Regions from separate parts of the Homo sapiens genome. Here regions 1, 2, 3, 4, 5 and 6 are each linked to region 7. Evidence: promoter capture Hi-C in 16 types of primary human blood cells and fetal thymus (Javierre and others, 2016). All regions are on one chromosome and are shown on one strand. Each heading gives the region's core, a stretch centred on a gene start or on the middle of the fragment in contact. The rest is flanking DNA. Distances are from core to core; before and after follow the strand shown.

Region 1 (3,875 bases), core at 312-2,811, 880 kb before region 7:
GTGTTTCCAAAAGTGTGGGATAAGGTGGTATGCAAGATTATATAAAGGGAAAATTACTCTCCTTTCAGTTTGCTCCAGTCTTTCTGATTACATCAAGAAGAAAGTCTGCGTTTGGTATTTTTTTTTTGTTTTTTTGTTTTTGTTTTTTGTTTTTTGTTTTTTTATGAGACGGAGTCTCGCTCTGTCGCCCAGGCTGGAGTGCAGTGGCACAATCTCAGCTCACTGCAACCTCTGCCTCCCAGGTTCAAGCGATTCTCCTGCCTCAGCCTTACGAGTAGCTGGGACTATAGGTGCGTGCCATCACGCCCAGCTAATTTTTGTATTTTTAGGAGAGACGAGGTTTCACCGTGTTGGGCAGGATGCTCTTGATCTCTTTACCTTGTGATCTGTCCGCCTCAGCCTCCCAAAGTGCTGGGATTATAGACGTGAGCTACTGCGCCCAGCCTTGGTGTTGGGTATCCTTAACTCTGCCAATATCTCCAATATCTCCATTGTACAAAGAGAATGTGGGTTGGATCACAGAGCTTCTGGCAGGCAGCCTCATCCAGCCAGAATTTAATTACATTGTTTTGGTTTCATTTGTGGTTACCTATTTTTGGCAAGTGACACTGGTTTTCAATTTATGGTAGTAAGAGAAAGTGTCCTTTTTAAAAGCTTTATTTCAATTATTATTATTATTTTTTGAGATGGAGTCTTGCTTTGTCGCCCAGCCTGGAGTGCAGTGGTACGATATCAGTTCATTGAAACCTCCGCCTCCTGGGTTCAAGTGATTCTTGTCCCTCAAGCCTCCTGAGTAGCTGAGATTACAGGCCTGTGGCACCATGCTGGGCTAATTTCTGTATTTTTAGTAAAAACAGGGTTTCGCCACGTTGGCCAGGCTAGTCTCCAACTCCTGACCTCAAGTGATCCACCTGCCTTGGCCTCTCAAAGTGCTGGGATTATGGGCGTGAGCCACTGGGCCAGGCCTTTATTCCGATTTTTAAAAAGTGAGTCAATGTAATGAAAAATGTTAAGTAAATAACACTGGTAGTAGTATAGTTAAAACCCTGCAGATGGTTTGTGAGTGACTAACCTTTGGGGACCCTTGGGACTAAGAATCCATAGATTCTGCAGGTGAGAATAGGTAGAGTTGCCAAATAAAACACAAGACACGGCCGGGCGCGGTGGCTCACACTTGTAATCCCAGCACTTTGGGAGGCCGAGACAGGTGGATCATGAGGTCAGGAGATCGATACCATCCTGGCTAACATGGTGAAACCCCGTCTCTAATAAAAATACAAAAAAATTAGCCAGGCGTAGTGGCAGGCACCTGTAGTCCCAGCTACTCGGGAGGCTAAGGCAGGAGAATGGCATGAACCTGGGAGGCAGAGGTTGCAGTGAGCCGAGATCGTGCCACTGCACTCCAGCCTGGGCAACAGAGGGAGACTCCATCTCAAGAAGAAAAAAAAAGAAAAGAAAAAAACACAAGACACTCCATTAAATTTGAGTTTCTGATAAGCAATGAATATATAGATTCACGTACACGCATATATATATGTACAAGCATGCCCACAAATTGTATAGGACATAGTTGTACTAAAAATAAATGTTTATCCAAAATTTGAGACTGGGTGCAGTGACTCATGCCTGTAATCCCAGCACTTTGGAAAGCTGAGGCAGGAGGATTGCTTGAGCCCAGTAGTTCGAGACCAGCCTAGGCAGCATGGCAAAACCTTATCTCTACAAAAAATATATATAAAAAAAAAACTGGCTGAGTGTAGTGGTGTGCGCCTGTAGTCCCAGCTTCTCAGGAGGCTAAGGTAGGAGAATCCCTTCAGCTCGGGAGGTTAAGTGATCTGTGATCATATCAGTGCACTCCAGTCTGGGCAAGAGAGTGAGACTCTGTCTCAAAACATAAAATAAAATTTGATATTTTTGATATTTAGTATAAGTATATACCATGCAATGTTTAGGATGCACTTATACTAAAAAATGATTCATTACTTTCCTAACGTTCAAATTTAACTGGATATGTTCATTTTTATGCTAAATCTGTCCACTCCAAAATTAGGGCTCATCCAACTCTATAAGTGCAGTGTGGACATCAATTTCAACCGTCAGTTCTGGGAGCTGGTGTTCCCTGGGTTAAGCCTCTTTCCTCCCTCCTATCTGTAATCAGAGTAAATAGTAAAACAGTGTATGGGAGGGAGACTGTCTGGGGCGTCTGGCCTGTTCTCTCACCATCTCTGGGAGTATCAGGAGTGTGGACAGACCCATCCAACCCTTAGTGGCGCCTTTTCACCCCGTCTTACCGGTATAGGCCTCGGGCTGCCCCCAGGACTAGGACCATGCGCTTGCCAAGTGTGAGGTCTTTTTCCCTATCCAACAGCTCCCTCAGGGTCCCGAGTTCACAGTACTCCATGACAATGGAGAATTGAGGCGGAGTCACTGGTGGAAAGGAGCCAGACACTATGAGGACCCGCCCTACTTGAAGCTTCCCATGTCTGCAGCCCACCTCTCCCAGCCTCGGTACAGATACAGACTTGGCTCTGCTGAGTCCCATTTCTCCCCCAATCCTCAGCCCACAGTTTTGGTCCCCGGCCTCCTTGAATGGACCAAATATGCCCAGAATTCCCATCCTCTTCTCCATAATACTTGGCTTGTCGTAATTCTACCTTAAAAAAAAAATTGGCTGGGTGCGTTGGCTCATGCCTGTAATCCCAGCACTTTGGGAGACCAATGTGGGTGGAACACAAGGTCAGGAGTTTGAGATCAGCCTGGCCTACGTGGTGAAACCATGTCTCTACTAAAAATACAAAAATTAGCTGGGTGTGGTGGCAGGTGCGTGTAATCCCATCTACTTGGGAGGCTGAGGCAGGAGAATCACTTGAAGCTGCGTGGCAGAGATTGCACCACTGCACTCCAGCCTGGGCAACAGAGTGACACTACATCTCAAAAAAAAAAAAAAAATGTTCTGCCAGGTGTGGTGACTCACGCCTGTAATCCTGGCTCTTTGGGAGGCTGAGGCTGGTGGATCACTTGAGGCCAGGAGTTCGAGACCAGCCTGGCCAACATGATGAAACCTCGTCTCTATGAAAAATGCAAAAATTAGCCAGGTGTGGTGGGACATGCCTGTAGTCCCAGCTATTAGGGAGGCTGAGGCAGGAGAATTGCTTGAACCTCGGAGGTGGAAGCTGCAGTAAGCATATTGTACCACCGCACTCCAGCCTGAGTGACAGAATGAGACTCTGTCTCAAAAAAAAAAAAAAAAAATTCTTTTTCTTTTTCTTTTTTAACTTCTATCTCCCTTTCTTGGTATAATTCAAAATTTTCTTGAGCAGTTATTTGGCGAATGTCTTCCTCACTCAACTGGATTCCCAAGAAGGCAGGAAATGTGTCTGTCTTGTTCACATGGGTGCTCACAAGAAGCTTCGTACATCTGTGTGGGAGGAATGAGTAGGGCACACATGGCAGGGGCGGGTGAGGACTCAGACAAGAAGTCGACTTCCCCATTCATGGGCCTGAGCTGCAAAACTGACATGTGACTGAGCCAGGCACCTCAGCGGTCCCCAAGGAGAACAAACGTTGCTGAACATTTGTCTTTATTTTTTATTTTTTAATTTTTTTGAGACAGAGTCTAGCTCTGTCACCCAGGCTGGAGTGCAGTGGCATGATATTGGCTCACTGCAACCTCCGCCTCCCAGGTTCACGCAATTCTCCTGCCTCAGCCTCCCGAGTAGCTGGGACTACAGGCACCCACCACCACGCCCAGTTAATTTTTATATTTTTAGTAGAGACAGGGTTTTATCATGTTGGCCAGGCTGGTCTCAAACTCCTGACCTCAGGTGATCCACCTACCTTGGCCTCCCAAAGTGCTGGGATTACAGATGTGAGCC
Region 2 (3,798 bases), core at 745-3,244, 910 kb before region 7:
CAAGCTCCGCCTCCTAGGTTCAAGGAATTCTCATGCCTTAACCTCCCAAGTAGCTGGGACCACAGGTGTGTGCCACCACGCCCGGCTAATTTTTTGTATTTTTAGTAGAGATGGGGTTTCACCATGTTGGCCTCGAACTCCTGGCCTAAAGGGATCCGCCTGCCTTGGCCGCTCAAAGTTCTGAGATTACAGGCGTGAGCCACTATGCCCAGCCACATCAAGCAATTTTCTCACTAGAGTTTGGCTTCTGTTTGGCTCTCTAGTGGTTCTGTTTTTCTTTGTAAGTTGGCATCTGGTTTATAAGTGTCACCCTTAAGTTGGTTAATACAAGTCACTGTGCTTGACCAAGAGGAATCCACTCTGCGTCCCCCAACAAGAATGAGTGCATGGATAAGCAAGACTGAGGACTTGCAAGAGGCCTCCTGACAGTCAGCCAGCTCCTGGAAACACCACTCACAACTCTCAACCATGGAAAGTTAGCCCATTTACTTTGGGAGGGTCCCCAAATTACACCATAAGGTGCCTTCACCTATAACACAAATGTATGAAATCTTACCCTGCCTTTATAACGTGAGTAATGACATCTTAAAACAACAGACTATAGCCAAGCCTGCTGGTGCACGCCTGCAATCCCAGCTACTTAGGAGGCTGAGGCACAAGAATCGCTTGAACCCGGGAGCCAGAGGTCCTGGTGAGCTGATACTGCGCCACTGCACTCCAGCCTGAGTGACAGAGCAAGACTCTTGTCTTAAAAACAAAAAAAAAACCCAGAGTAATATGCATTTGCAACTCTTGTCAACACAGAACTAGGCATCTGTCATCCTTGATGGGCACTACAGACACTGGAGCCACAGTCATGGCAAGCCCCAACATTAAAATCAGCAGGATCCATGAAAAAGAATGCTGAATCCAGATACAGAAGGCACAATTCCAATTCCAGCCTTATCACAACCAAATCACAAATTATCCCATCAGCTTCCTCATTTGTAAAACATGGGTAATAGATGACCTAGCTACCACTTTTTAGTATCATCTCAATATTTTCACAGTGTTAGAAAACATCGGCATGGTTGCGTATGCCTGTAGTCCCAGTTAATCATCAAGAGGCTGAGGTAGGAAGATCGCCTAAGCCTGGGGAGGTCGAGGCTGCAGTGAGCTGTGATTGCACCACTGCACTCCAGCCTGGGGAGCACAGTGAGACCCTGTCTCAAAAATAACAATAATAAAAACAAGAAGAAAGAGAAAACAAAGGGATTTCGTCGAAGCTTCCTCCATCTGCCTATGTAGAAAACAGGGCAGATCCAGGCTCCAATATCAGTGCTAACTCCTCTATTCTATAGTTATGAGACCCTGAACAAAGCCCTCTCTGAGCGGAGATCGCACCACTGCGCTCCAGCCTGGGCGACAGAGTGAGACTCCATCTCAAAACAAAACAAAACCAAAAACAGACAGGTTTAATTAGTTAGGTGTGGTGGCACGCGCCTGTAATGCCAGGTACTGGGGAAGCTGAGGCAGGAGAATCGCTTGAATCTGGGAGATGGAGGTTGCAGTGAGCAAAGATTGTGCCACGGGAATCCAGCCTGGACGACAGAGTGAGACGCTGTCTCAAAAACAAAAACAAAAAACCAAAAAACGGACAGGGTATAGGCAATTGTTATTCTTCATAATAACCCTGTCAAGACTTGACAGCTAAGCCCTTCAAGAGGCAAGTTCAAACCAAGACTATGAAAGAAAATTAATTAATTGTGCCCCCAGGTGGAATGCCAGTGAATAATGAATTTGGGTGAGTAGAGACTTGCAAGTGAAGAAAGAATTTTTGGTGTACAAGACACAATCTGAACAACAGCCAATCTCTACAGAGATTGCCAACAAACTACCACCTAGTTTTCAAGGCACAACAGTTTAACTTATCCCTTCATTACTTTGTGAAGTAAGGCAAGCACTTTTATTTCCACCTATGAGGAACTGGGGGTCAGAAGTTACCTGACTTGCCAAAAGTCACACTGTCAGTCCTTGAATGGCAGAGCCTCAGTTTCATAATTTCTAGTACAGCAATGATCACAGACTTATCCATATATTTATTTACCTGGCACTGTCTGTCCTCTGAGACCCTCCGGCTCTTGCCCTCCGTGAAGCAGATACCCTCCTTCTTGTTCTCATTGGCCCTACACTGTGGTTTGAAGATGAAGGTCTCAGGAATTCCAGCATGCCATGAAGTCTCTGCAGTCCGCTGATGAAGTTGGTCATTGAATGCAACGAAGATGCTGGGATGGTGTGATTACCATCAGATCCCTGCCTATGTTGTTCTGAAGTTCTTGGATTGATGTTCTCCACAGTGTCTTCTCCCAAGACCTCCACTTCTGTCAGGTCAACAGACAGTTGCGGAGCAGGCTGGAGCAGGGGTGGTGTCGCTTGGCTGCTGATCACCTCAGCAGGAGCTGGCTGGAGGATGGATGGTACCCCCTGGCTGCTGACCACATCAGCAGGAACAGGCTGGAGGAGGGCTGGTCCCCCTTGGCTGCTGGCCATGCCAGCAGGAGCTGGCTGTTGTTCGGCATGATTTAACTGCACCTGAACATCATATTCCATTGCTTCATGAGCCATCACTAGAGAAACAGTATTTGTAAAAAGTATTAATAAAATAGATAAAACATGCTATGTAGGTGACAGAATCATATTTAATCTTTCTGATTTTATGTTTAATATCATTCTTAGCAAGACTGAGAAGCTTCAAGAGAAGATTTTAACTACTTAAGTCAGAAGTGTTTGGTAATGGACTTTCCTCTCTATAACAAGCATTTATAACCAGTTTTCCGGTTTGCCCTTAGAAAACATGAAGTCCTGTGATCATAGTAGTATCTTCCAAAATAGAAAGATCTATAAACCAAGGAGATTAAACTACTGGGTCTAAAAGTAATCTCTCAGACACTTTGCAGTTCTCTCAAGCTGAATATGGACATTCACCAAAATCAAATGCATATAATGCAGTATCTAATTTTAGCAGGCAATATTAATCTTTCACAGCATCAACAGTTACAAGGGATAAATAGAGAAAGGACATTTTTTACACTTGCAAAATTAACTGTTACTAACTCAAAATGGAAACTTACCTAATGTTTCCAAAAAGGCTGAGCAAACTTTATCCTATCCCTTTCATTATTTTTGTTTTCCATCTCTAATTCCATCATGTTAGCGTATTCAACAAATATTTATTAAGCACCTATGTTCTTTTCATGTTTCCTATCTTTAATTCCATTGTATCAGTTTGAAAACTACCACCTAGTTTTTAAACTAAAAAAAAAAATTTTTTTTTGTTATATAGATGAAGGCTTCCTATGTTGCCCAAACTGGTCTTGAATGCCTGGCCTTACCTCCTCATGCATCAGGACAACAGGACTGAGCCACTGTGCCTCCCTACCACCTAGTTTTTAAAGTACATCAGTATAACTTATCCCCTTAATTACTTTGTGAAGTAAGGCACGTGCTTTTATTTTCATCTGACTTATGAGGAAATGGGGGTTCAACTAATAGTTATTAAGCACCTGTTATGCAGACAAGACACCCTAGAGGCAAAAACAGATAAGACCCCATGTATCAGAGTTTAGATTCTAGCAAGTAAGATGTCAATAAACAAATACATGAAAAAAATTATAGATTATGATGTTTGGGGTTGAGGAGACAAAGAGGACCAACTAAGACACAATTGTGAGGGAAGTACTCTTTTAAAGAGTGAAAATTGGGCTGAGGCATGAAGGATTAAAAGCAGCTGGCTATGCAAAGAGCCAAGAAGAGTCTCAG
Region 3 (4,024 bases), core at 117-2,616, 560 kb before region 7:
TTCTTTTTTTTGAGACAGAGTTTCGCTCTTGTTGCCCAGGCTGGAGTGCAGTGGTGCGACCTCTGCTCACTGCAGTCTCCGCCTCCCGGGTTCAAGCAATTCTCCTGCCTCAGCCTCCCGAGTAGCTGGGATTACTGGCATGCGCCACCATGCCCAATAAGCTTGGGGCTAATTTTGTTTTTTGTAGAGACGGGATTTCTCCATGTTTATCAGGCTGGTCTCAAACTCCCGACCTCAGGTGATCTGCCTGACCCGGCCTCCCAAAGTGATAGGATTACAGGCGTGAGCCACTGCGCCCTGCACCTTAATCATTCTTAACACACTTTGTAAGTATTTTATCTGTTTACTTTTTTCTGTGTATGGTTTGCCTAAAGTCTAAGCTCCGTGAGAGCAGGACTGTGTTCCTTGATCTCTGTTGTGGGTCCTGCACTGTGCCTGCCACTCACATTTTTTGAGTACATGAATTTGAGTACTTTATGTTCATCATCTCACTTAATCATCACTCTGACTCTATGGAGTAAGACTGTTCTCTCCCACCCCCATTGTGCAGGTAAGGAAACAGGTTTGGGGAGGTTAAGGAACTCACACAAGATCAGGTGGTTAGTAGGTGGTGGAGATGGGATTGGAATGCAGGTTGGCTGGTGCCAGAACCTGGGCTCTTAACCAGTACCCTCTTCCGCCTCTTATCTGAAAACATCACAAAGCCGCATGGTGTCCTGGAGATTGCGCTGGCCTACGAGTCAGAGTGCTAGGCTCATCTCCTGGTTAGGCAGCTGATTAGCTGCATGATTTGTGACCTTGGGCAAGCGAGTCATTTAACCTCAGTCACAATTTATTCATCTGTAAAATGTAGAAGACGCCTGTCCTGCTTACCTCTCAGAGTCATAGTGAGGGTCTCATGAGATAATGTGCACAAAAGTCAAAGGACATTCTAAATGGAGAGTGGTGGAGTTCCTATGGGGGCACTCTCTTATAGTTGTCTGCCTTCAATCGCCTCAGATTTTTTTTTTTTTTCTTTTGAGACAGGGTCTTATTCTGTCACCCAGGCTGGAGTGCAGTGGCGAGATCATAGCTCACTGCAGTCTCAGACTCCTGGGCTCAGTTGATCCTCCCAGCTTGGCTTCCCAAAGTGCTGGGACCACAGGCATGAGCCACCGTGCCAGGCCTAATGGTCTCAGAATTTGATGGGTGGAGAGAGGTTTACAGCTGTGCTAGCTGTAGCCCCCAAATGGAATCTGGTTCTGTGTCCTAAAGTCTGGCCTGCATTAGTGGGCTGCTTTTACTCATAATGCCGCTGATAAGGGCTGCTTTATAGAAGCAGAGTGACTCCCTTTCCACGTTAAAAAGTTTTGCTATAACTCCTGATGGCTGCCTCGGTGCTATTCTGGAGGCCTGGTCATTCTCTTTCGGTAGTTCTGTTTGTCTCAGAGTATGGATTTCTAAATGTGGGGTACAAAACATGCACCATCCACCATGTTGAAAGAAGTTGCTGTTTTCTAGGTTCTACTATAAAAGGGCTGGCCATTGAGGGCTTCACTTCACCTTCTTAGTCATATGTGTATATATATGTATGCACTTTCAGAAAGTCTAAACTGTTCTTTATTGTCATCAAGCCATCAACTGAGACTGATACAAGGTGATTGTGTTTTGTTTTTGTTATTTATTTATTTTTGAGACAGGGTCTTGCTCTGTTGCCCAGGCTGGAGTGCCATGGTGCAATCATGGTTCACTGTAGCCTCAAACTCTTGGGCTCAAGCCGTCTTCCCATCTCAGCTTCCAGAGTAGCTGGGACTCAGGTGCGCACCACTACACCTGGCTAAATTTTATACAATCTTTTGTAGAGATGAGGTCTCACTATGTTGCCTAGGCTGGCCTCAAACTCCGGGCTTTAAGCAATCCTCCCACCTCAACCTCCCAAGGTATTGGGATTATAGGCATAAGCCACCACGCCTGGCCCAACGTGGCTTTTAATAAGTCTTTGAACATGCTAGGAGGTATCTCTTGGGCTCTATTTTGCTGCCACTGTAGGGTTCTCAAGTGATTTAATTTTCTTTTATTGTTAGCTAATGGGGGAGAATTGCCAGCTCCCTTGGAGTGAATCAGAAAGCCTTTGTGTCCCGCCATAGGTGTGCTAGAAGTAATGGGCCTTCACATGGTTTCTGGAGAAGGAAAAGCATTCTGTGGTCTCCAAAGAGCATGATGGGTCTCCTGCCCTGCAAAAGTTCTATTGTTAATGAAAACTTGTATTAAAAAGCAGAATTTTTAGCTCTTTATTACCATGAGGGCTTATTTTCTTAAAATACAAAAGTTACCCCGAGGCAAAGATAATTTCTTGAAGGTCATAGTTAACTCTTGCTTATTGAGGTTTGAATGGTGTTGTAAGAAACAGTGGCTTAGCTCTTAAAGCGTTTGCTTTATGGGATACTACATTTTGATATTAAACAAAGACCCACCTCAATATATCATGTCACAAGGAATACTTAGGCCATTCTTAGCCAAAGAAATGAAGCAAGCTCTAGTTCCTTTTGGGAAAAGGAACATGCTTTGTATTTTACATATGTGGTATTCACCCCAAGCTTATTGGGCACAGAAATTTGAGTATAGTAGTTACTCCCTATCCAAAGGGGATTCGTTCCAATACCCACAGTGGATGCCTGAAACCGTGGATAGTACCTCACCTGAACCCTATATCTACTATGTCTTTTCCTGTATATACATACCTTTGATAAAGTTTTATTTATAAATTAGGCACAATAAAAGCTCGACAGCAGTAACTAATAATAGAACAATTATAACAATATACTGTGATAAAAGTTATGTGAATGTGTTCTCTCTCTCTCTCTCCCTGTCTCGAAAGTACAGTCATGCATTGCTTAATGACAGGGATACTTTCTGAGAAATGGGTCATTAAGGGATTTTGTCACTGGGCAAACATCATAGGGTGTACATACACGGACCTAGGTGGTATAGCCTGCTACATACCTAGATTATATGTTGCTCCTAGTGCTCCTAGGCTACAAACCTGTGCAACATGTGACTGTATTGAACACTGTTGGCAATTGTAATACAGTTGTAAGTATTTGTGTGTCTAAACATAGAAAAGGTACAGGATATAGTCTTACGGGACCACCATCATGTATGCAGTTGCTTGTTGACCCATGCATGTAGGGTGGTGCGTCATGGTATCTTAATATTTTAGACCTCCATTGACCACGGGTAACTGAAACTATGGAAAGTGAAGCCTTGGACAAGGGGTACTGCTGTATACCCAATTATAAAACTAAGCTTCAATTTTGACAGCTTCAAAATTAGAAAAACTTCATAGGGAAGTGGTGGTAACTTAAATGGGATATTGATTCTGCTCCTACTCATCCTTAGGTAGGGGTGTTTTTAATGACAGTGGATCACTAAGGTTGTGGTTCTAGAATCTTGAAGTTAGCCCAAAACCTAAATCTTAACCTCAGTCAGTTTGTTTGTTTGTTTGTTTGTTTATTGAGACAGAGTCTCACTCTGTCACCCAGGCTGGAGTGCAGTGGCATGATCTGAGCTCACTGCAACGTCCACTTCCCGGGTTCAAGTGATTGGCCTGCCCCAGCCTCCCAAGTAGCTGGGATTACAGGCATGCACCACCACGCCTGACTAGTTTTTGTATTTTTAGTAGAGACAGGGTTTCACCATGTTGGCCAGGCTGGTCTCGAACTCCTGACCTCGGGTGATCCACCTGCCTTGGCCTCCCAGAGTGCTGGCATTACAGGCATGAGCTACCGTGCCTGGCCACCTCAGTCTTTTAGGATGATGGGTGAATATAAATTTCAGTCTGTTTCTTTTCCAAGCTTTCTCATGGCCTAGTCTGAATCAGATGGTTCATAGTAATTACCATGGGTTCAGTCTTGAGTGTGAGAAGGGGATTCTTAGAGACCCAGCAGTTTTCACTTCTGAATCTTAGGTTCTCACTAGAACACAGGTTTATCCTTGAATCCAGCAGTTGGGTTTCTGTCCTTTATGTGCTGTATGGATGAAGGAT
Region 4 (3,518 bases), core at 534-3,033, 960 kb before region 7:
AAAAAAAACCTTCTAGTTTTTAAAAAGTATTTATCACAGACATGCTTGAAGTATTTGAAATGACAGTATCTGGGATTTGCTTTTAAATATGCCAGCCTCCCAACCCTGTGCCCTAAAAATAAAAGGGCGGGGCTGGGCGCGGTGACTCACGCCTGTAATCCCAGCACTTTGGGAGGCCGAGGCGGGCAGATCACGAGGTCAGGAGTTCGAGACTAGCCTGGCCAATATAGTGAAACCCTGTCTCTACTAAAAAATACAAAAATTAGCCGGGTGTGGTGGCGGATGCCTGTAGTCCCAGCTACTTGGGAGGCTGAAGCAGGAAAATCGCTTGAACTCGGGAGGCTGAGGTTGCAGTGAGCCAAGATCGTGCCCCTGCACTCCAGCCTGGGTGACAGAGTGAGACTCTGTCTCTCAAAAAAAAAAAAGGGTGGGAACAGTTGAAGCTGGGTGATGTATACCCAGGGACTCATTACCCTATTCTCTCTACTTCTGTGTAAGAAAATCTATGGGGCACGCACAATGGCTCATGCCTGTAATCCAGCAGTTTGGGAGGCCGACGCAGGCAGATCACCTAAGGTGAGGAGTTCAAGACCAGCCTGGCCAAGGTGATGAAGAGGCTGAGACAGGAGAATCACTTGAACCCAGAAGGCAGAGGTTGCAGTGAGCCAAGATTGTGCCACTGCACTCCAGCCTGAGCAACAGGGCAAGACTTCGTCTCAAACAACAACAACAACAACAACAGCAGCAGCAGCAGCAGCAGCCAGGCGCAATAGCTCATGACTGTAATCCCAGCACTTTGGGAGACCAAGGTGGGCAGATCATGAGGTCAGGAGATCAAGACTATCCTGGCCAACATGGTGAAACTCTGTCTCTACTAAAAATACAAAAATTAGCTGGGCGAGGTGGTGCGTGCCTGTAATCCCAGCTACTTGGGACGCTGAGGCAGAAGAACTGCTTGAACCAGGGAGTCAGAGGTTGCAGTGAGCCGAGATCACACCACTGCACTCCAGCCTGGCAACAGAATAAGACTCCGTCTCAAAAAAAAAAAAAAAAGAAAATCTAATCTATGAACATCACAAACTTTTTATTAGAGACGGTGTCTCACTATGTTGCCAGGCTGGTACTGAACTCCTAGCTCAAGCAATCCTCCTGCCTCAGCCTCCCAAAGGGCTAGGATTTCAAGTGTGAGCCACTGCGCCCGGCTGAACACCACAAACTTCTAAGGAACCAAGGTCTCCATCTGAAACTTCGAAATACAAGACACTAGTGGAAAAAAAAAAAGTGCTACTGGCCATTTCAACCAAGAATAAGTAAAGTATTTTAAAATGACTGACAACATCAAGCATGCCTTCCTTATCACATACTAAGCAACAGTATCTTCTCTTTCTTTGGTATTATTACTCCACCTACTAGAACAGCCCAGGGAATATTTTTTCTTTTCTGCCTTACACTTTCTAATTTTTTGTTTTTATTTAAATAACTTGAACTACTAATAATTATACACACACAACTAGGACTACTAACACACCATTACTGGCTATTACATCTATTATTTCATAGTGGACCCATGATATACTTGGCCTTTTTAAAAGCATGACTCATCCGAGAGCGTTAAAAAAAAAAAAAAAGAATCCCAAGGCCAGGCACAGTGGCTCACAACTCTAATCCCAGCACTTTGGAAAGCCCAGCTGGGAAGATCACTTGAACCCGGAATGTGGAGGCTTCAGTGAACTCTCAAACCCAGAAGACTGAGGCTGCAGTGAGCTATGACTGCACCACTGCACTCCAGCCTGGATGACAGAGCGAGACCCTGTCTCCATAATAAAAAATTTTTTTTCAGAAAGAAAAGTTCCATAAGGTTCCAAAAAGCAAAAGTTAAGTTTGACATATGCCAAGTACTACAGTGAATCCACATGAATGAACTGATATGTAGGCACTGTACTAGGTATCACAAGTATTTTAGAGAAGACAAGAATTCGGAAGGGTGTGCACAGATGATATGGAAATACGACACCATTTTATACGGTATAAGGTACTTGAGCGTCCTTGGATTTCAATATCTGCAGGAGGCCTGGAACCATCCTCCAGTGATACCAAGGAACAACTGTACTCATATGCTCTGCCTTTTCATAATTCCAATAATGGGTACGGATAGGAAAATGTTCCCTGCATTTGCATGCAAAGGGACAGAAAAGTACATATATCTATTTCACTATCAAATAGTTCTACTTACTGAACAGCAAATACAAAACATATTCTATACATGTTTCTTCAAATGTGCCTAACTAGTTTACTTCTTTAAGTTATGCTCTTTCAAACACATAGATCAGATTTAATTAACTCCCAGACTAAGCAGAATGAAATTTCCTTTCGCTGTCTTTAAAGAAAAAGAAAATAGGGTGGGGGTGGTGGCTCACACCACTAATCTCAGCACTTTGGGAGCCCGAGGCTGGCAGATCACAAGGTCAGGAGATCGAGACCATCCTGGCCAACATGGTGAAACCCTGTCTCTACTAAAAATACAAAAATTAGCTGGGCGTGGTGGCGCTCGCCTGTAGTCCCAGGTACTCAGGTGGCTGAGGCAGAATTGCTTAAAGCCGGGAGGTGGAGGTTGCAGTGAGCCAAGTTCAAGCCACTGCACTCCAGCCTGGCGACAGAGTGAGACTCCATCTCAAAAAAAAGAAAAGAAGTTTAAAAATAACTCCACCTCCTGAAGAATACACATAGGTGTTCACAGTACTCTTCCTTCATTATTTCTGTATGTAAAAACTGGAGGAAAAAACATTAAATTGGAAATTTGGTCCCTCCACCTCCCCCCAACCCCCCAAAACCCCCATTTCCAATTTATATGACGCCTTTCCTCCTCTGGAGCATAAAACTGCCTCCTTTAAGTGGAGGTTTCCAAATGTCCGGAATACACATGAAGGATATATACACTCCTTGAATAGGCCACTTTTTGCCACTTTCCCTAATAATGTGCTGTTTCTACCACAAACTACTACTAATTGTTTGGTCACCAGTATTAGGATCCTAGTTTGATGAAACGACATCTATTATGTGTCCTCAAAGAGCGAAAAGAAAATTCCAAAAAGTTCGACAGAGTTAGGAATATTAGCTGTATCTACCAGAGGACTATCCCTCTAGTCGTTAAGCTGAAGATGAGAAGTCAGGTAAGGCCTCACATTTCTAGGGGCTCTGGAAACTTCCTTTCTTTCTGTCTCCTGCTTATGTATGTCTTTTCCTCTATCTGAATTGCTTTTGTATAGAATACTAGAACACGAGATGAAGGGGGGAAATGCCAAGAGAAGCAAATTTCTACAAGCAAGTGGTCTTGCTATAGCTTGAACGCCTTAAACAAATCTGATATTTAAAAAAAAAACCAAAAACAGTATCAAGTGGTAGCTTCATTCTATTTGTCCACCTTTAGGGCTAATTTTATATACCTACACCTCTGGAAAAAGTTACTACTGTCAGATTTGCTCCCAAACTTTGAGAATTGTCATTATGGTCTGCAGCAT
Region 5 (3,800 bases), core at 108-2,607, 930 kb before region 7:
CGATACGAATTCCATGCTACTCAACACCAAAGAGCCCAGTCTCCACCTACTTCCCCAAATCACTCACCTGGTCAGTTTAATAGTGTTGTCTAGGGAAGCAGAGAGTAGCAAGCCTCTGAGGTAACTGCTAAACGCCAGTCCACGGATCTGTTTGCCATGCATCGGAATGTACTGACTGCTCTTCATGTTGGCAGTACTCAACATCTTAACACCAAAGCCTGAAAAAGGCAAAATAGTATGAAATAGATCACTGAAAGTGAACCTAGGGCAATTCAAACTAGTTTTTCAAGTAGCTCCTTCGTCCACCTTTCTTGGCGTATAAGTCCTTGGGAACCAGCTGGTCAAACAAAAATTCTCTAGTGTTACAATTTATTCATTTATTTTTGAGAGTTGGCCAGGCTGGAATGCAGTGGCGTAACCTCAGCTCACTACAACTTCTGCCTCCCGGTGATCTGCTCGCCTCAGCCTCCCAAAGTGCTGGGATTACAGGCATGAGCCACCACACCTGGCCTATGATTCATTTAAAAAAGTACAACCCAGGCCAGGCATGGTGTCTCACCTCTGTAATCCCAGCACTTTGGGAGGCCGAGACAGGTGGATTACCTGAGGTCAGGAGTTCAAGACAAGCCTGGCCAACACAGTGAAACCCTGTCTCTACTAAAACACAAAAAATTAGCCAGGCGTGGTGGCAAGTTCCTGTAATCCCAGCTATTCAGGAGGCTGAGGCAGGAGAATCGCTTGAACCCAGGAGGCGGAGGTTGTAGTGAGACAAGATTGCACCACTACACTCCAGCGTGGGCAACCAGAGCAAAACTCCGTCTCAGAAAAAAAAAAAAAAGAAAAGAAAAAAAAGTACAACCCATGCTTGCTTCATGACAATGAAGAGAAGAAGAAAAAAAAAAAGAAAAAGTATAACCTACTCCAAACATCCAGGTAAATGGATAAACAAACCTACTGTATAAACATGTGATGGAATACCACCCGTTAAAAAGGAATTAACTACTAATATATACAATAAAAAATTATGCAGCGAGAAAGAAGTCAGACCAAAAAATGGTAACACTATATAATTCCATTTATGTAAAATTCTAGAAAATGCAAACTCATCTGTAGTGACAAAAAGCAGTGACTGCTGGGGATGGGAGAGGAGGGAGGGGCAGGTGAGATTATCAAAGGCCATAGGGAAACTTTTGCGGTAATACATATGTTCATGGCCAAGCATGGTAGCTCGCGCCTGTAATCCCAGCACTTTGGGAGGCTGAGGTGGGTGGCTCGCTTGAGATCATGAGTTCGAGACCAGCCTGGGCAATATGGTGAAACCCTGTTGCTACAAAAAATATGAGAATTAGCTGGGCGTAGTGGGGCGAGCCTGTAGTCCCAGTTACTCAAGAGGCTGAGGTGGAAGGATGACTTGAGCCCAGGAGGCGGAGGTTGTAATGAGCTGAGATCACACCCCTCCCTGCATTCCAGCCCGGGAGATCACACCCCTCCCTGCATCCAGCCTGGAAGACAGAACTAGATCTTCTGTCAAAAAAAAAAAAAATTAAAGTTATCTTGATTGTAGTCATGGTTTCAGGGGTGTATTACATATGTTAAAAGTCATCAAATTGTATACTTTAAATATGTAGTTTACTCTCTGTCAATTCTACTTCAATAAAGCTGTTGAGAGACAGAATATTTCACCAGAACCACAGACACTCCAGATGCAGAAGGAATAGTGAACAATAGAGAATGAAAATAAATAATTTGTCAGTCAAGATATGTCACATCTGTCTGAAATGAAATGAAACAGATGACATTTCAAGTACCCACATTACTGAAGTGGGGGGAAAATAACCAACAAAAACCAATAACCTTTTAAAACTTCTTGTTACTCTGTTCTCTTACTAGGCTATGATAACATTTATTTTTTACTAAGTACTTTATATATATATATATATATATTTTGAGACAAGGCCTCACTCTGTCACCCATGCTAAGGTGCAGTGGCACCATCATGGCTCACAATAGCCTCGATCTCCTAGGCTCAAGCGATCCTCCCAACTCAGCCTCCCAAGTAGCTGGGACCAGAGAGGTGTGCCACCACACCAAGCTAGTTAAGAAAAATTTTTTTTATAGCGATGGAGTCTCACTATGTTGCCCAGACTGGTCTCATACTCCTGGGCCCAAACGATCCTCCCGCCTTGGCCTCCCAAAGTGCTGGGATTACAGTCATGAGCCACTGTGCCCACTTGAGTTAAATTCTTTAAAAATACGTCAAATCCTAGATTCAAGATAGCTTCAGCTTCTCCAGGGAACCAAGCACGTGGCTTACTGTACTTTCTTCTAGCAGAATTAAGACAGCCAGAGAGGAAAAAAAAAGGGGGGAAGGGGGGCGCAGGTATAGGCTTTAAATCAACAAGGTGGCCAGGCATGGTGGCTCATGCCTGTAATCCCAGTACTTTCGGAGGCTGAGATGGGTGAATCACCTGAGGTCAGGAGTTGGAGACCAGCCTGACCAAAATGTTAAAACCCCATTTCAAATACAAAAATTAACTAGGCATAGCCGGGCGCGGTGGCTCACGCCTGTAATCCCAGCACTTTGGGAGGCCGAGGCGGGCGGATCATGAGGTCAGGAGATTGAGACCATCCTGGCTAACACGGTGAAACTCCGTCTCTTCTAAAAATACAAAAAATTAGCTGGGTGTGGTGGCGGGCGCCTGTAGTCCCAGCTACTCAGGAGGCTGAGGCAGAATGGCATGAACCCGAGAGGTGGAGCTTGCAGTGAGCCGAGATAGAGACAGCGCCACTGCAGTCCGGCCTAGGCGAAAGAGCGAGACTCCATCTCAAAAAAATAAAAAAAATAAAAAATAAAAAAAAAAATTAACTAGGCATGGTGGCATGCACCCGTAGTCTCAACTACTTGGGAGGCTGAGGCAGGAGAATCTCTTGAATCCAGGAGGCAGAGGTTGCAGTGAGCTGAGATCAGGCCACTGCACTCCAGCCTGCGCAAAAGAGTGAGACTCCATCTCAAAAGAAAAAAAAAAAATCAACAAGGTAACAGAAATACACACCGAGTTAATCATTAAGGGGAACAAGGACAAATCAACACCAGCACACTATCAAGCGGACTGGAATGGACACGTTAAGAAAAAAAGAACAGAACACATTCCCAATTTGGGGAACATTAGGAAATAGCTATTTTTCCAATTTGTTGGTTTTATTTGATGATAAATCTTTTTATTAAAAACTTAGATGGGATAAAGGAACATTATATAACCATGCTAAAGCAAAGGGGTCTTGCAGTTGGCAGAAATCTTATGCTAAAGACAGCAGAAAGAAACATCTGCAAGATTTAGAAATGATTTAATTGAGCATTTGAAAAGACTTGGTTTTCAACATTTAGAAAACCTAAAATTAAGCTTAAAAACACAAAACATGTTGAGAGAAAATTAACCTAGTATTAATAAAATAATCAATTTACTCCCTAAATTCTCTTATTTGGAAATTGTTAACTTGAACACTATTGTAAGTAAATATTAAATTTTGTTTCACCTTGAATTAACCCTTAGGGCTGTGTTTTGTCAAACATTTCCAGTCTAAAATGCATCTGTAAGTTGAGGACATATAAGTCCTTCTTGGACTATATCAGTAACCTACACTTCCAAGGACCTCACCATCTGCTTTATCATGGTTATCAGTATTTCTACCCTCTTGGTTAATAAATTTACAGAATGAAGTCAACAGACAGTAAAGACATCTTTGCAGCACCCTGGGGTACTTGCATTAACAAGGAACTAATAGGGAAAGGTGATTTGGTA
Region 6 (3,672 bases), core at 431-2,930, 530 kb before region 7:
CTTCTTCTGTGTTTAATCTCTGTGTTAAGCACAGCATTACATTCCAGTAGGTATGTGATAAATCCTTGAATTGAACCATTGAAAATGGCACTGTTGCTGCTGTTCTCAGTGCCTATCAGAATTGTGCAGAATTAATAGTTCCTATAGATCTAACAATTACATACCCCTGTTAAAAATATAGAAAAAATGTGGTTTTGAAATGAACAGATTTAAAATTAGACTAAACTTGAAAAGTGGCCTAAATGTTTTTAATGGCAAAAACTTTCTGTTTTATTTATTATTTTTAATTTGTTTGGAAAACTTTTTTTTTTAATGTGGAAGCATATTTAGAATACTGTGAATAAATATAAGTTGCTTTCCTGCAAATTGCTTTATTTAGGGAGGCCAAAGGCAGAACCCTAAAGACTTTAGAACCACTTAAAATACAGATAATTTACTTGGTCATTTTCAACCCAGGAACACACAGATTTTACTCTTGAAACTACTTATAAAAATCCTTGGAGTTAATGGTATACGAGAGTGTTGTAGCTCATGGAGTACTAAACCATGAGATCAATCATAAGATTCTCCCTGATACTTGTAAGAGGTACAGATTCCCAGGTTCCCCTTTGTTAGAGATTTGGATATAATACATCTCTGGTGAGACTTTGAAATCTCTGTTTTTAATGACTGGTCCTGGAGCTTTTAGGAATGCAGATTTATGGGCCCCACCCCAGACCTACTGAATCCAGTGGGAAGAGAGGGGTTGGTCTGTCAACAGGTGTTCCAGGTGATTCTTACGTGTGCTGTTGTTGAAGAAGCACTGTTAATAGAGAAATCCCTTTCATAGTTCTTTGCCAGAAAACTACAGTTCTACCAGAAAGTATCCCAAAAGATTTTCACTGTATATAGGAACCTGCAGTTAGGGATCCTCCAGATGTTGTGGGATATTGGTTGTTACTGTTTTGAAACTGAGGTATAGTTGACATACCATAATATTCATACATTATAAATGTACAATGAGATTTAGTAAATATATAGTTATGAAACCATCACTAAAATCTTTTGTTTCTTTCTTTTCTTTCTTTTTTTTTTTTTTTTTTTTTTTTTTGAGTCTTACTCTGTCACTCAGGCTACAGTACAGTGGCATGGTCATAGCTCACCGCAGCCTTGACCTTCTAGGCTCAAGGGATCCTCCTTCCTCAGCCTTCCACGTAGCTGGCACTGCAGGCGCGCACCACCACGCATGGCTTAAAATCCAATTTTATAACACTTCCATCTCTCAAAAAGTCCTTTTTTTATTTTTATTGTTTTAAAACAAGGGCGTCACTCTGCCACCTAGGCTGGAGTACAGTAGTGAGACTGTAGCTCACTGCAGCCTCAAACTCTTGGGCTCAAGCAATCCTCTCACTTTGTCCTCCCAAAGTGCTGGGATTACGGATGTGAACCACCACATCTGAAAGGGCCACTTCAGAAAGTTCCTATGCCTGTTTTTAGTCAATCTCTGCTCCCCACCGGGCAACTGCTATCTCTCTAGATTTGCCTTTTCTGGGAATTTCATATAAATGAAATCATACAGTATGTATTATTTTCTGTTTGGTGTCCTTCACTCACCATGTTTTTGTTTTTGTTTTTTGTGGGTTTTTTTTTTTTTTTTTTTTTTTTTGAGACAGAGTTTTGCTCTTGTTGCCCAGGCTGGAGTGCAGTGGCGCAATCTCGGCTCACTGCAACCTCTGCCTCCTGGGTCCAAGTGATTCTCCTGGCTTAGCCTCCTGAGTAGCTGGGATTATGGGTGCGCGCCACCATGCCCAGCTAATTTTTTGTATTTTTAGTAGAGATGGGGTTTCATCACGTTGGCCAGGCTGGTCTCGAACTCCTGACCTCAGGTGATCCACCCACCTTGGCCTTCCAAAGTGCAGGGATTACAGGCATAAGCCACCATGCCCAGCCCACTTACCATGTTTTTAAGTTCATATGTGTTGAGTATGTATCAGTAGTTTGTGCTGACATCGGTAGTTTTTATTGCTAAATAGTATTCCATTATATGAATTTACCACAGTCAGTCTATCCATTCACCAGCTGATAGACTTTTGGATTGTTTCTAGCTTAAGACAATTATGAATGATGCTGCTGTGAACATTCATGTTCGTGATTTTATGTGGACATAAGATTCCATATGAGAAGTTTGTGTTTAAACGTTTGAGAAACTGGCAGCCTTTTCCAAAGTGGCTGTACATTTTACATTTTCATGGGCAATGGTTGAGAGTTCCAGTTTTGCCACATCCTTGCCAACACCGTGTATTGTTGACTTACGGATTATAGTCATTCTAGTAGGTATGTAGTGGTACCACATTGTGATTTTAATTTATTTTATTTATTTATTTATTTTTGAGACAGGGTCTCACCCTGTCGCCCAGGCTAGAGTGCAACGGCATGATCTCAGCTCACTGCAGCCTCTGCCTCCTGGGTTCAAGTGATTCTCCCACTTCAGCCTCCAGAGTAGCTGGGACTACGTGTGCATGCCGCCATATCCGGCTAATTTTTGTATTTTTTGTTACAGATGGGGTTTCACCATGTTGGCCAGGCTGGTCTCCAACTCTTGACCCAAGTGATACGCCCGCCTCAGCCTCTCAAAGGTCTGGGATTACAGGCGTGAGCCACCGTGCCCAGTCCTCACTGTGATTTTAATTTGTATTTCGTTAGCTAGTGATGATCCCTTTTCATGTGTTTAACAATTCACTTATCTTTTTTGGTGAAATGTCAATTCAAATCTTTGCTTGCTTGTTGTTTTCTGTTTTTAAGACTTAATTCTCTCAGGAGTTCGAGACCAGCCTGGCCAACATGGTGAAACCCCATCTCTACTAAAAAAAAAAATATATATATATAAAATTAGCTGGGCATGGTGGCAGACGCCTATAATCCCAGCTACTCGGGAGCCTGAGGCAGGAGAATCACTTGAACCTGGGAGACGGAGGTCGCAGTGAGCTGAGATCATGCCACTGCAGTCCAGCCTGGGCAACAAGAGCAAAACTCCGTCTCAAAAAACAAAGACTTAATTATTTTAATAGAGCAGTTTTAGGTTCACAGCAAAATTAAGAGGAAGGTCCAATGATTTTCTGTATATCCTCATTTTTAAAAATTGAGTTGTTTGTCAGTGAGTTGTAAGAGTTTATGTATTATGAATATGTCTTTTGTCAGATATGATTTGCAACTATTTTCTCCCAATGTGTGGCCTGTGCTTTTATTTGCTTATATGGTATCTTTGGAAGAGCAAACATTTTTAATTTTGGTTGTCTAATTTATCAATTTTTTGCTTTTATGAATGATGCTTTTGGTATATGTAAAAAAAAGTGTCTAGACCAAGGTTACAAAAATTTCTCCTATTTTCATCTAGAAGTTTTATAGTTTTAGCTCTTACATATGTCTGTGTTCCATTTTGAGTTAATTTTTGGATATGGTATGAGGGAGGGAGTGTCTGTTTCTTTCTTTTTTTTTTTTTTTTTTTGTAAACACACATATTTCTAGTTGTAGCAACATCATTTGTTGAAAAGACCATCCTTTCTTCCTGAATTCCCTTGGCAGAATCAACTGGTCATAAATGTAGTGGTTTATTTCTCGGCTTTCAATTCTGTTCCATTGATTTATGTGTCTGTTGCTATTGTGGTTACTTGTAACTTTATGATAAGTTTTGAA
Region 7 (3,708 bases), core at 241-2,740:
AAAAAAACCTATTCTAGTTACTCAGACACACAGTCTTAAAATAACAAAAATACTTATAGAATGAAGCTAGATTCCACAGCATCGATCAGGAATTTCCAGTGTAGGAAATGATGAACTACCACATTCAAACATACAGGCTTTACAGGTGCATCAGAATCACAAGCACGTGGCAGGGTTCATGTGCCCAATTAAGTGAATATTCCTGCTACATGTTCAGCAGCTTATAAACAGATGGTGACCCAGACCAGACTGCCTTGATGAGTCTGCTTGGAAAAAAGGCATTACATCACTGATTGGAGAACCTCAAAGCATATGTCCGGGCAGGTGACACACACACAGCTCAGGCTGTGATTGCTAAACCACTCCCACAGCCAAATAAGGAAACCCATCTCATGACCAGCTCTCAGGGGAATTCTCCGAGTCTGACAGTCACCTCTAACTCCTCTGCCAGTTAAAATTAAGGGGTCTGTGATCAGTGATGTTACACTCCTCAAATGTGCATTTTTTTTTGAGGCGGAGTCTTGCTCTGTTGCCCAGGCTGGAGTGCAGTGGTGTGATCTCGGCTCACTGCCACCTCCACCTCCCTGGTTCAAACGATTCTCCTGCCTCAGCCTCCCGAGGAGCTGGGACTACAGGCGCCCACTACCATGCCTGGCTAATTTTTGTATTTTTAGTAGAGACGGGGTTTCACCATGTTGGCCAGGCTGGTCTTCAACTCCTGACCTCAGGTGATCCACCCGCGTCGGCCTCCCAAAGTGTTGGGATTACAGGCGTGAGCCACCGTACCCCGCCTCAAATGTGCATTTGTGATACCTTTTCGTAAATGTTTATTCAAATATTTATTCACGAATAAAGGAAGAAAACGGGATTTGTTTAAATTCAATTTCTAGGTCCAAGACAACCTACTACGGCTGTCCCTAATACGGACCTCCGGGTTGTCCTCAGTGCCGCTTCCAACAGTGTCCTCAAACACCCTCCCCTCCCATAATGAGCCCCCAACCTGTCACCACTCCGAGCAATACTCCCCAAACTGTCAACGCCCTAAACAGCTCCCTTGTTATCGCCAAGCTCTAGAAAGCCCTCCTTATGTCATTCTTACCCCTAAAGACCGTTCTTGTCACCAATTCCCCAGACTTCCCCTATGAACCGCTCTAAGAGCCCTCAGCTATCAGCCACACCCCCAAACAGCCCTCAGTAAGAGCCCTACACTATCAGCCAGACGTTTTCCGCCACCAACGCTCCCGAGACCCCACTCCTGTCACCAGTTCCCCGAACATTCCTGCGAGCAATGTCGCAGATACTGCTCACAGACGTCCCCATAACCAACTTCTTCGCCACCGCAGCCCAGGAGCCCCCAAAGGGGTCCTCCGCGGCCCCGCCCCTTTACGTGCGGCCCCGCCCCTTGGCGTGGCGCCCTGACAAATGGCGCCGGAAGCCCCGCCCCCGGCCGGTTGCTAGGCTCCGACAGCCGGAAGTCCCGCCTGCCGTGTAGTCGCCGCCGTCGCTGCCGCTGCCGCTGCCGCCGTCGTTGTTGTTGTGCTCGGTGCGCTGAGCTCCGCGGCTCCGCGAGCCGGTTCCGTCCCCTTCCCGCCGCCGCCATGAAGTGGATGTTCAAGGAGGACCACTCGCTGGGTAAGCACTTGGTCGTCGGCCCGGCTGCTGGGGGCTGGGGCGGCGGGTGGGCCCCCTCCCCCACTCGGGCGGCCCTGGGCCGAGTGGAGCGGGGCGGATGCCCTGCTGCGGGCTGGAGTCGCCCATGCCCTGGTGCCTCGGGCAGCGGCCCCCTGACCCCATGTCACCCTCCGCGGGCCTTGCTGGGAGCTAGTAGGGGACAGGACCGCGGCCCCGGGGACGCCGGAACCAGGGCCTGGGTTGTACGCAGGGCGCAGGAGGAGGAGGGCCGGGGGCCGGGAACCGACCGGTGGGCAGGCGCGGCCGTCAGCCCCGTTTGTTTCTCCCACAGAACACAGATGCGTGGAGTCCGCGAAGATTCGAGCGAAATATCCCGACAGGGTTCCGGTGAGTGGACTCTCCGCCCCCTCACCTCGCTGTCACCTCTGTCGTCTGGGACCCGTGATAGGCCCCAGGCCATTCAACAGTTGACAAGTTGAGGTTCCAGTCCCAGTTACAGTAGCTGACGGGCCAGACCGGGATGAGGCCGCCCAGGGCCGGGGCGTGAGGGGCTCGGGCTGGTGCTGTTCAGGGTGCCTCAGTGCTGAATCTCCCGATCTAGGCCAGCGAGCCGTCTGCAGCCTCGGGGCTCCCTGGCCAATTATGTAAGGAACGATGTTCTAGGACAGGGCAACAGGTCACTGCCACTTTTGGGAATGGTGGTGGAGGGAGACTGTCATTTTGGTCTTGGAAGTGGTACTTGAGTCTCAGGACGTTCATCTTTTACTTTGTCTCCATCTTTACCTAACTTCTAGCTCCGTTATCTCACCTTGACCCTGTCATCCTTGCCTGACCAAAATAATGTGAAAAGCCGCTGAAAACCCCTTCTGCCATATTTTCTTCTTAGTCAATAATAAATATAATGTTATATTTCTTCCATGGTTGGGGAGATAGTTTTGTAATCGTTATTAATTTTTAATGGACATTAAGGCCTGTTATTGTAGCTCTTTGCTTGTGAATAATTTGTCTGGGGAAAGGAGTAGGAGGGACGGATTTGAAACTTGTTCAGAGAGGAGCAACAGGCCAAATGAAGAACTTGGTTCTTGGCTGGCTAAAATTCCAGGCATTCCAATTAGTCCATCCATTCTTGTCTCCTGTGTTCCTTGGGAACACAGTAGTGTTTCCTGTAGTGTGAAGGTGGATCCATTCTGGGGTCCTGGAGTAACGGGCCATGGATGAAACCCTCCCCAGATATTCTTAGGTCTGCCCAGATAAAATGTGGAAAAGCTTAGTGGTAAGGGCTGCATTTCTCTTACATAATTGACCACAGAAAAGCACTTACTGTTTCCCTGTAACACATTTATATCAATTCTTAACCTCCAGAGCGTGTGGTTTATTAAGCCAAAGACATATTTTCTCCTGCTATGCAGTTCCCCACCCACCTCCTTGCCCACACTCTGTTCATCAGCTCCTCAGCCATGTGAGGCCAGAGCCTCGCTTTAGGAAACACAGTCCTGACCTCTCTTTACTTTCCCAGGTGATTGTGGAAAAGGTCTCAGGCTCTCAGATTGTTGACATTGACAAACGGAAGTACTTGGTTCCATCTGATATCACTGTGGCTCAGTTCATGTGGATCATCAGGAAAAGGATCCAGCTTCCTTCTGAAAAGGCGATCTTCCTGTTTGTGGATAAGACAGTCCCACAGTCCAGGTGAGAGGTGTTTACTAGATGGGCCCTCTGGTATTAGACATCTGGTTGGCTGCTTACGGAACTCCAAAACTTTGGAAGTCTGAAAACTCTTAGGGGTCCTGACTAGAAATCTGGATTTTATGCTCCCTGACATCAGGGGCTCCAGGAAAATAATGGCTGCAATACATAAGAGTGCATTTTGGATTCAGAAAATAGAACAAGGCCTGGACTTTTAAAAAAATGATGAAACTCAGCCTAAGATCTCCAAGAATCTTTTAAAACGGTTGAGAACTTATTTAGTCTTAAGCTATAGGTAGAACTGAGGCCTGAAATGAGGTTTTCTTCCCTGAAGGCAGTCCTGGCATGCTCCTCCACTGGGAGCCTGTGGGCCCTGCTGAGGCTCACTCA

The links. The method cuts DNA at HindIII sites, captures the fragments that hold promoters and counts their contacts. A CHiCAGO score of 5 or more calls a contact.
Region 1: a contact is called between a fragment that was not itself captured here and the fragment with the promoter of GABARAPL2 in region 7, in 1 of 17 cell types (monocytes). The highest score is 5.3, in monocytes.
Region 2: a contact is called between a fragment that was not itself captured here and the fragment with the promoter of GABARAPL2 in region 7, in 6 of 17 cell types (total CD8 T cells, naive CD4 T cells, non-activated CD4 T cells and 3 more). The highest score is 6.8, in total CD8 T cells.
Region 3: a contact is called between a fragment that was not itself captured here and the fragment with the promoter of GABARAPL2 in region 7, in 1 of 17 cell types (neutrophils). The highest score is 6.2, in neutrophils.
Region 4: a contact is called between a fragment that was not itself captured here and the fragment with the promoter of GABARAPL2 in region 7, in 2 of 17 cell types (total CD4 T cells and naive CD8 T cells). The highest score is 5.7, in total CD4 T cells.
Region 5: a contact is called between a fragment that was not itself captured here and the fragment with the promoter of GABARAPL2 in region 7, in 1 of 17 cell types (fetal thymus). The highest score is 6.0, in fetal thymus.
Region 6: a fragment that was not itself captured here is called in contact with the fragment with the promoter of GABARAPL2 in region 7 in 1 of 17 cell types (neutrophils); the score reaches 5.3 in neutrophils.

What each region holds. Positions count from the first base shown.
Region 1 is chr16:74,680,360-74,684,234 of GRCh38, forward strand. It overlaps MLKL (mixed lineage kinase domain like pseudokinase), which reads right to left. Exons shown (of 11, transcript NM_152649.4): 6 at 2,292-2,427. Among named protein-coding and RNA genes, the nearest start is that of RFWD3, 15 kb to the left of the region's middle. RefSeq lists a silencer at 1,708-1,906. The HindIII fragment of the contact is 1,819 bases long and covers 653-2,471 here.
Region 2 is chr16:74,658,846-74,662,643 of GRCh38, forward strand. RFWD3 (ring finger and WD repeat domain 3) reads right to left here. Exons shown (of 13, transcript NM_018124.4): 2 at 2,087-2,606. The coding sequence starts at 2,604. Among named protein-coding and RNA genes, the nearest start is that of RFWD3, 6.1 kb to the right of the region's middle. The HindIII fragment of the contact is 1,463 bases long and covers 1,264-2,726 here.
Region 3 is chr16:75,002,960-75,006,983 of GRCh38, forward strand. The region is part of intron 1 of ZNRF1 (zinc and ring finger 1); the gene reads left to right. Among named protein-coding and RNA genes, the nearest start is that of ZNRF1, 5.9 kb to the left of the region's middle. The HindIII fragment of the contact is 2,415 bases long and covers 160-2,574 here.
Region 4 is chr16:74,602,372-74,605,889 of GRCh38, forward strand. The region is part of intron 1 of GLG1 (golgi glycoprotein 1); the gene reads right to left. Among named protein-coding and RNA genes, the nearest start is that of GLG1, 3.0 kb to the right of the region's middle. The HindIII fragment of the contact is 3,850 bases long and covers 1-3,518 here.
Region 5 is chr16:74,632,456-74,636,255 of GRCh38, forward strand. RFWD3 (ring finger and WD repeat domain 3) reads right to left here. Exons shown (of 13, transcript NM_018124.4): 9 at 68-218. Among named protein-coding and RNA genes, the nearest start is that of GLG1, 27 kb to the left of the region's middle. The HindIII fragment of the contact is 4,083 bases long and covers 1-3,399 here.
Region 6 is chr16:75,038,979-75,042,650 of GRCh38, forward strand. All of the region lies in intron 1 of ZNRF1 (zinc and ring finger 1), which reads left to right. Among named protein-coding and RNA genes, the nearest start is that of ZNRF1, 42 kb to the left of the region's middle. The HindIII fragment of the contact is 5,341 bases long and covers 1-3,672 here.
Region 7 is chr16:75,564,889-75,568,596 of GRCh38, forward strand. It overlaps GABARAPL2 (GABA type A receptor associated protein like 2), which reads left to right and starts at 1,491. Exons shown (of 4, transcript NM_007285.7): 1 at 1,491-1,632; 2 at 1,964-2,019; 3 at 3,149-3,321. The coding sequence starts at 1,599. RefSeq lists a silencer at 1,554-1,963 and an enhancer at 1,953-2,706. The HindIII fragment of the contact is 5,212 bases long and covers 1-2,896 here.